2 separate regions of the Homo sapiens genome follow, and region 2 is linked to region 1. The links are contacts of gene promoters, found by promoter capture Hi-C in blood cells and fetal thymus (Javierre and others, 2016). All regions are on one chromosome and are shown on one strand. The core of a region is centred on a gene start or on the middle of the fragment in contact, and the rest is flanking DNA. Distances in the headings are between cores, read along the strand shown.

Region 1 (4,406 bases), core at 1,430-3,929:
GGGAATATAATTTGGCAATACTTAATAAGTTGAATATTCACATAACCTACAAACCAGCAATTTTATTCCTTGGTATTAACCCAAGAGAAACACTGGCACGTGTGCCCAGGAAACAACAATAATCAGAGCAACACTGCAATATCTCAAAAAAAAAAAAAATGGTCAGAGAGGAGAAAAGAGAAACATACTGCGTTATAAGACACATAATGGAATATTTTACTGCAGTGAAAGTCAGTGAACTACAACTACATACAGTATGAATGAATCCAGAGATATAATATTGAGTGAGGAAAAAAAAGTTCCAGAAGTCAATGGATACTATGAGACCCTTTTTCCCCCAAGATTTAAAACCACTTTTTAAAAAGTATCATAATTATGACCTAACCTTTGCAGCAAAACAACAAAATCCTTCTTTTGAGAATGTATGCCTTACCTTTCAAAACTATATTATCTTCTCTCTAGTCCAACAGTTTCATGAGTAAAGTCATAAGAATTTTTATCTCCTTATGCAGTTTACCTAATCCGGTATCTGTGGTGGTACTAAGACCTCCAACCACAAAGATTTCATCTTGGAAGGACTTTATTTTTCTCCTTGAAATAAAGTTAACTTAAGGTTATAGCAATCTAGGGATAAGAAAACTTACATATGTGATCCTATAAAAGTCCAGCAGAACTACCTCATACTAAAGCCAAGAGTCACCTGACAAGTCATAGTAATCTGAAACTGAGGTACCGCCAAAGGTAATCCATCCACTGAATGTATAATGGCGTTATCAACATTGCATCCAAAAATATGAGCAAAACCAGAATTTTTAGGCTTTCTAAAAGCCTGAAATTTTAATTTCAAAATATTTCATTTTTACCTTAAGAAAAATTATTTTTTAGGGAAAAAATATATGAACTCCTACTGCAAAAGAATAATAATAATAAAATCCACCAATCAGGGCCTTTCCCAATGAGGGCTATGCATATTCTCTGTAGGTGATTATTGCTGAATTACACTGCAGCTTCCCTTCGACCTTGGGAACCCTGCTAACTCTCAGAGTTACTGCGAGGTCTTCTGTTTCATTTATTATTAGTCTTTGTCTCCGCAATGCTGTAGCATGTGATAGAAATATCAACGTTGTGAGCTTGCAGTACCCAAAACTGTAGAAATGTTTCCAAAAAATAAAGCGGGGGTTGGGGGCGGGGGGAAGGATGAAAGAAGGAAAAGAAACAAAAACAAAACAAGAGGAAAACAAAGTTAATGTATTAAGATGGGAAATTTCTTATTTTTACCTTGTGAAGACTACATTTCCTAATCAGCTTAGTGATATGTAACCATTAGTATGCAATTTTTAAATTTAAGAAAAGATGTCCAAGAAAATTATTTAGAAAAAAAAAATCACAACTGAATATAATAGACAATTGGCTAAACTTAGCCCAGCAATTTAAAAATGAAAGTTCCTATAGAAAAAACCTTACAGGATTTTGTGTCCAGAAGAGAGAAATAATCTGGCAACCCAGTGGGTTCACTTAGTTTCGTGTCATTTGCTTCATGTCCATTATGTAATGCTTCCCCTAGCTTTAGGTCTCTATGTTTAAGCAACCGTTCAGGTATATCATAGAATTGTCACAAAATCAGTATCTGGTTATAACTTTCAAAAACAGCTTAAAAGGTGCCTTGCAGATGTGTCTATACGCAGCAGAAGCTTTGGGGAGAAAATCCGCTTGTGTCATTACTTCTCCAGGCTTTCTCCTCAGGTCTCCCATTCCCTCCTCCCCCAGCATCCCCGGCGACACGATCTGCGGGCAGCTCCCGGCTTGATGCAGGGGAAGCACGTCTTGACTGCAATGCAAACGCTGTCCCGGTCTGAACCAGGGAAGGCAGACTTGGCCCTGGCCGGGGGAGTGGACGGAGGCTGCCGGGAGGGCTGCAGGGGCGCCAGCAGCGGGTGGGCAGGGGTGCCCCGCGAGGGCAGTCCGCAGTGCACGCGCACAATAAAACCCAATGCACAACTTCCCCAGCCGCTCCTCTCGGCTTCCCCGATTCCCTGAAAGGTGCGGCGTAGGCGTTAGCTCTCGCGGGCGCGGGCGCTCTCACCCGCGCCGGTTCGGTTTTCCGCTGACAATTACATCAGTCCTTCTCCCTGCCCCTGCTTCAATCCCCAGGCAGCCTGCGGGGAGCAGGGGCGCCGGCCCGCGCGAGGGAATGCGAGCGCTAGTGGCAGGCGGCCGGAATTCCCTGGCAACGAGGGGGAGGGAGGGCGGCAAACCGGGACCGCGATACAGACGCCCCCTCCCATCCCGGCCGCGAGAATGGGCTGACACCGCCGCCCCCACTTCCCTGTAGCCCGGGCTATCGGCCGGGGGCGCCTCCAGGGGGACGGCGATGTCCTGGGGACCCGAAGCTGCGGCTGCCCACCCACGCGTCCCTCGGGGTCCTCGGCCCGCCGGAGGCGCACAATGCCCCCGGGCCGCGATGCGGGCACCTTGGCGCCCGCCCCAAGCAATCCCTTTGCAGCTAGGACACCTACCTGGAGGGCGAGCGGTGGCGCCGCGGACTCTGCGGCGGCTGCGCGGCTGCGACGGGAGGCAGGAGGCGGAGAGCCGGCCCCGGCAGGCGGACTGGCGCGCGGGCTAGTGGAGGAGAGGAGGCATGGGCGCCGCCTGCACCGAGCCGCGATCTCCAGCACCGACAGCGGCGGCGGCGACCGTGCTGCGCCTCCAGTGGTCCGCTGCGCTGCAGCCCCTCCTCTCCCACGGGCGGGGCGCGCTGGCGGGGCGGCGCTCCGGGTTCCCCGCCCCCGGCTCCCGCCCGTCCGCCCGGCTGGAGTGGAGCGGCAAGCGGCTGGGGCTCATGCTGCGCACCCGCCCTACCGGGCGCCCCTCCCTGCGCCGCCAGATGGGCTAAGGACCCGGCGCCCTGCGCCCTGGTCACGCGGGGTCCCACAGCCAGGGCTCTCCCCTGGCCCGGCCTCCGTGGGAACCCGTGGTGTCCCGAGATCACCCGCAGTGGAAACCCCGAGTTGCCATCCGCGGGCCTGCGCGCAGTAGCGGAGCCCTCGCCCCGCGCAGTCCGGCGGAGGTGAGCCGGCCGCGCTCGGGAGGGTTGCCCAGAACGGCTCCAGCGCTCGGCCCAGGAGCGCCGCAGCCGGGAGCACTGCGGGAGACCGAATTCCGAAAGGAACGGCTGCCTGGCGGCCTCCGCTCGGGGCTGCCAAACCCATGTCCCTGGGCGCCCTTCTGAGGTCGTCATTTCATACACTTACGCGACTGTGCGTGCCTGCTCCCGTCCCTGACTCGCTCGGGAGCAAAAACTTCCCGGGCCCAGAGAAACACCTGGGTTCTGCGAAAGGAAGAGCCGGTTCCTTCAAGCCCCTGGCAAAGCCGATCAAAGTCAGTCAGTCCCGCCTCACTACAACCCTTCCACACCCTTAAACCCTTCCACACTCCAAGCCACTCCCGGCCTGCGTTCGGTGTGCAGATTAATCTAAAGGCAAATTTGCTGGGAGGGACGGGGTAATGTAAATATTTGTACAGACATTCTGTAAACGAGTGACTGCGGACATGTCAATATTTCAAGACATTTGTGTCATCATCATCTGGGGGTGGGAGGCGGAGGGGGAGTCCAGAGGACATCGACTGGACTTAATGGGAGCTATTACAGAACATGCTGGGGTGCCTTCAAAAATGGAAGATATTGCTTACTAATGAGGCAACTGTGATGGCATTTCATTGTGCCCTGTGCTGACAAAATGATTTGCTATGAAACATAGTCGACTTTATGCACTCCTTCCCACATGCAGTTTCTCTTGAATCTCCAATCTCACCTGTTGGATTAGCTTTTTCCATCTAGACTAGCAATGTTCTCATGTCCTCTGGTCACAAAATAATAGATGCGGGACCCTGCGACAATGGCAGTTTGTCCTTCATTCCTTTGCTGTGAAGACAGGCTCCTCAAGGGAGCAGCTGGGATGCTGACCTCTGCTTCATCACAGCCACCCTTTCTACTTACTCCTTCTGAGTTCCATTAACAGAAACTCTACTGAAATGGCTTTCTCCCTTAAAAGAAAAAAAGCTAAAACCCATGTATTTAAAAAGAAATACAAAAGTGTGAACGGAAATGAGAGTACACACAGCACACAGAATCTTTACCTAAAGAAGTTCTCTAGGCCCGGCGCGGTGGCTCACGCCTTTAATTCCCGCACTTTGGGAGGCCAAGGCGGGCGGATCACTTGAGGTCAGGAGTTGGAGACCAGCCTGACCAACATGGTGAAACCCCGTCTCTACTAAAAATACAAAAACTAGCAGGGTGTGGTGGCAGGCACCTGAAATCTCAACTTCCCGGGAGGCTGAGGCACAAGAATCGCTTGAACTTCCTGAAATCTCAACTTCCTGGGAGGCAAAGGATGCAGTGAGCTGAG
Region 2 (4,406 bases), core at 562-3,061, 200 kb before region 1:
AATTGGAATAATCAGACTATCTGAATCCCAAAAGAGATTCTAAATCTGAGATATTATCAAATGTAGTGATTTTAATAGACATTTTTCTCATTCTCATCTTGAAGTCCTCATCAGAGTGTCAGGCTACCTCTGACCAACATTCACTCACCTGATTTGTACCATGACCTTACTGTCTGGTAAAGATCCTTTCTACTATTTTTTCTTTTTTGTAATTATAACCCAAATTGCTAAGTACAGTCGTTGCTTCCCTGATGGGTCCTGGATCCTCTTCCAGCTACCTGATACCACATCTGATGGTCAGCTGCTGCTCCCTTTCCTTCATCTCTGCTTGTAAAAACCTTTACTTTGCAGGATTGTTTTCTTATGTTTAGGCTATTTTGAGACTGTTCAGGGAAGTGCTAGTAAGTACAGACCAGAACCACTTTAAATAGTATTTAAAGCTTTATCAACCATAGGAGAACAGACTCCCGTGAGGAAGTCAATAGGATTCTTATTAAAATTAACGACATGTATCTCAGGATGCAGAAAAAGAACATCAAGATGAATGAGCAGAAAAAGAATCAATATCAAGGGGAAGATTTTACTGCCGCAGGGCAAGCCACCTATGGATTTAAAATGGGAATGAGAGGAATAGAGAGGGTATTGTTGAAGCAGAATGCTTAGATCTGGTGATGGATTCGAAAATTTACCTGAGAATGAAATTCCATTCTAAGCTAATGCAGACTGTACACATAACATAAAAACTCAGATGCAAGGGAGGAGTTTTGGATAAATAAAATATTGCGCCATCTAGTGGAAACGTTAGCGCTTTCTCTTACACTCTCATCAGCAGTTTTTCATTTGATGGTGTATTAGCCATTATTAGGAATGCTTTGCTGAGGAGAAATACCACTAAAATCAACACCTCATAATAAAATGTAAAGTGTCTGTAACTGTATCAGAGTTTTAAATAACACTTAAATTCTAATGGTAAGAATCCAAGAATAAACATCTAACTAACAATAAAATATATGTAATTTTATAATTCCCTAGGAAAATCTCTGAGGAGATATTTTAAAAAAAACATACAGGCATTTATATAGTCACCTACGTGCAGAAACAGGAATACTGATGCAAGTTTTCTGCAAAAGCCTCTGTATATTAGTGGAGGAAAAACAAATCCTGAAGTATGCAAAACACACTTCTGCTTTCCTGCTTTGGGATGGATACATTCCTTAGCTTAAGTTTCATATCTCTGCCAATAGCAAGGTAAATGCTTAATATGTAGCCATGTACCATATGGAATCACTTGATGAAAATTTGAAATATGATTTTGCATAGAATTCATTTAAACAATGCAAATAAACTACTATTATTCTTGCTTCTGTTCTCAGTGGAATTCGACTAGTGTCAGTGGAGCGGGCATGGGATTGAGACATGGATTACATGGTGCTTCACTCAAAAACAATTACATTTATAGTACTACTAAGCCCACACAGGAATTCCATATGCTTTTTGTTATTTCCTTTTAAGGTTTTAACACTGATGACCAAATGTCCAAATCAAAGACAGATTTTTCCAAATAATAGGGCACACTGTGAGGTTAGGTGGAAGAGGGATGGTTTATTATCTGGACGCAGGACAGGAAATTAACGAGCCACGTAAATACAGAGATCTACTTAGCACGTCTTTTCCTTCTTTCCCTTCAGACATACCATATGGTAACTGACTTATCAGAGTAAAGCACGTGTTGTTCACTTTTAAAAAACCCATTTAAGTTAGTCTCATAATTGTCCTGATTGAGAAAGTGAATCATGCCATGATTCAAAAAATCTGTTCTTCACATAAACCTATGAGCACACATTTTAAAAATGATTTATTGTACATCTTTGCATTTCTTAAGGCATGAACAATGGCATACAGATGGAACAGGTTCTGAGAAGCATCACATCTTTTTCGACAAGGCCAGCACAATCACACCACATCAAACAGACACACTTGAAGTCTGCACTGACCGACTGCTTGTGGCCCAGGAGTCCTGCGATAGGGGATGGTGCTTCCAGACAGTGGAACAATCGTGTGGTTTCTATGTTGTTGTTAACTTTCTTGATCAGCTTTAAGCACCAGTTACCATTTGTTTTTCTTTACAAACTGGTCAGACTTTGGATTTTATATTCTGCTCCTTTTATTCTGCTTTCCAAGGACGGTGTGGATTTTTTTTTTTTTTTTTTTTTTTTTTTTAAGGAATATGGTTGCAGCAAAACAGAAAGGATCCCAAAGTGGTTAGGGGCCTTGTCTAATGCACTTCTGAAAGTCCATTATAAAGATGAATAGAAAAGCAAATGGTAGGTTTTCAGTTGACCCAGAAACCACACATAGCTATAAGAAACATAATTGTGCATAGTTATTTATTCATTCAGAATGTGATATGTTGGCTAGCTCTACATTCCCAGTCTACCAAAGAACAGGGCTGTCTACTTTGCTAAACCCAGGGTCCTTTCGAAGCTCCCAGTAGGTGTCGTTAGAAACCCAGGCTTCTCTTTGATTGGCATCAATAACTTTTCTGTGAAAATATAAACATCAACATTAGTCATGAATCACATCAAGGTAACCTTAAATAGGACCCTCTCCTATAGATTAGACATGGACATATAAGCAGTGTTTGTAAGCCAGTTAGTATCTTATCTGCTAGCTACTGATGATGTGACTATTTTTGACTGGAAGTGAAGTCATTTTTGTTGTTAAATGTGTGAAATGGAAGTAGGTAGGGCCAGGGGGAGAGGAACTCAGGGCAGGAACAAATTACCTCCTGGCAGGGGTAAAAAGTAAATAGCCCCCAATAAAGCATATACAAATACTGTAACTAAGAGCTTCAGGTCCCAGACCCACAAGAATCCTTTCTCCTTCACTAAAAGTATGCAATATCAGTAGCTCTAAGAGCCCCTACTGGGCCCATGTCCAAGGAGCACATTTTAGACATCTGAAGGGCAAGGCTGCATTTCTACCCCAGGGCAGTAATGACAGGACAAGTCTAAAGGAGATAAGGTTACCCTGAGCTTTTTGTCCTGGCTCTGGAGGGCAACAGATGCATTTGGAAACCTCAGATTAATCTGTGTGATGTATATATAATCCTGCAAATAATCCTGTAATAATCACCTACTATCATACCACAGAGAGACCAAATCTAAACACACACAAGCTTTGTGTGATAGAAATAAAATGAAATCCTAATAAAAGCCAGGATGATCTTGTGGGCAGTGGGGTCTGGTTCAGTCCCTGGCTAAGGGAGTGGGAACCAGTTTCCACCATTCTAAAGAGTGCAGCTGAAGGACAAAGAGCCTTCTGGGCAGGATGCTCACTCTTTTCTGCTGCCCATGAAAAGAGAAGAGCTGTAGAAAAAATTTCTTTTTATAGTTACTAACTTTTCATAAGTGCAAAATCGATTCAATATTTTCACTGCCAAAAGCAAAGATACCAAAATCCATTTACCCATTTTATTTTCATTTAACTGGAGTTTCTCATGGCCTGTGGCAACCATTTGCAAAACATGAACTTGCTATGGGAGTTAACTGACTTACTTAAAAAATTTTGGTATATGTTCAAGATTGTTTTCTTCCATATATCGTCTCCGAGATCTCTGGAGTTCCTCTACTCTTTGCTTCTCTGATGCTGCAGCTTCTAAATTTCCTTCTTCCAAAAATCTAAGCAGAAAGCAGTTGATATTTTAACATATTATCCTCTTTTCTGGGGGAAAAAAAACCTCATTTGCACAAAATTGTTTTCTAATTGCTATGAACATAAAATACCGCACAGTAACGGACGGAGTCTTGCTCTGTCGCCAGGCTGGAGTGCAGTGGTGTGATCTCAGCTCACTGCAACCTCTGCCTCCCAGGATTTACATATTTTCTATGTACATGAACTGAATTATTATAATCAGCAATATCAGTGAAAGGTGGGTGGTTTGGCCTTGAAGACTTTTCTATGCTGTCTAGGGTTCTATAACTTGAGATTTTCAGGACAACTGCAGAGTCCAGGGTGAGAAGAGCGTGAAGTCATAGCCATGTTCCTTTTCTATATTATCAGAAAGCTTTTGCTAAAAGGCCATAGAATGGAGGATGGTAACTGGCTATTCTCCGTCTATTTTGAGAACAGGCTGAGAGGGAAGGAGCTTTCCTGTTTTACTGGAGAGGGCAAAACTGATGAGAAAAGAAAAGGTAATGGGGAAAATTACAAAAGGCCACAGAATGTGAAATGAATAGTAAATGAAATTCAGAAAAGGAACACTGAAATAGAATTGAGAAGGAAAAAGCAGACTGAATGGTGACTTACAAATGCTTACATTTCAAAATGAGAGCAAAGAACAGGAATATAATATGCTATACATTGTACAGGAAGTTTATTAATAAATTTGAATGTCAAATAGCAAG

Evidence for each region. Contacts are between HindIII fragments. The CHiCAGO score rates a contact against its expected background, and 5 or more counts as called.
Region 2: a contact is called between a fragment that was not itself captured here and the fragment with the promoter of OSBPL6 in region 1, in 2 of 17 cell types (megakaryocytes and erythroblasts). The highest score is 5.9, in megakaryocytes.

The regions. Positions count from the first base shown.
Region 1 is chr2:178,192,785-178,197,190 of GRCh38, reverse strand. It overlaps OSBPL6 (oxysterol binding protein like 6), which reads right to left and starts at 2,679. Exons shown (of 25, transcript NM_032523.4): 1 at 2,517-2,679. RefSeq lists silencers at 1,695-1,989, 2,436-3,125. The HindIII fragment of the contact is 4,321 bases long and covers 1,694-4,406 here.
Region 2 is chr2:178,393,587-178,397,992 of GRCh38, reverse strand. OSBPL6 (oxysterol binding protein like 6) reads right to left here. Exons shown (of 25, transcript NM_032523.4): 24 at 3,558-3,680; 25 at 1-2,542. The coding sequence ends at 2,434. Among named protein-coding and RNA genes, the nearest start is that of CHROMR, 18 kb to the left of the region's middle. The HindIII fragment of the contact is 2,738 bases long and covers 443-3,180 here.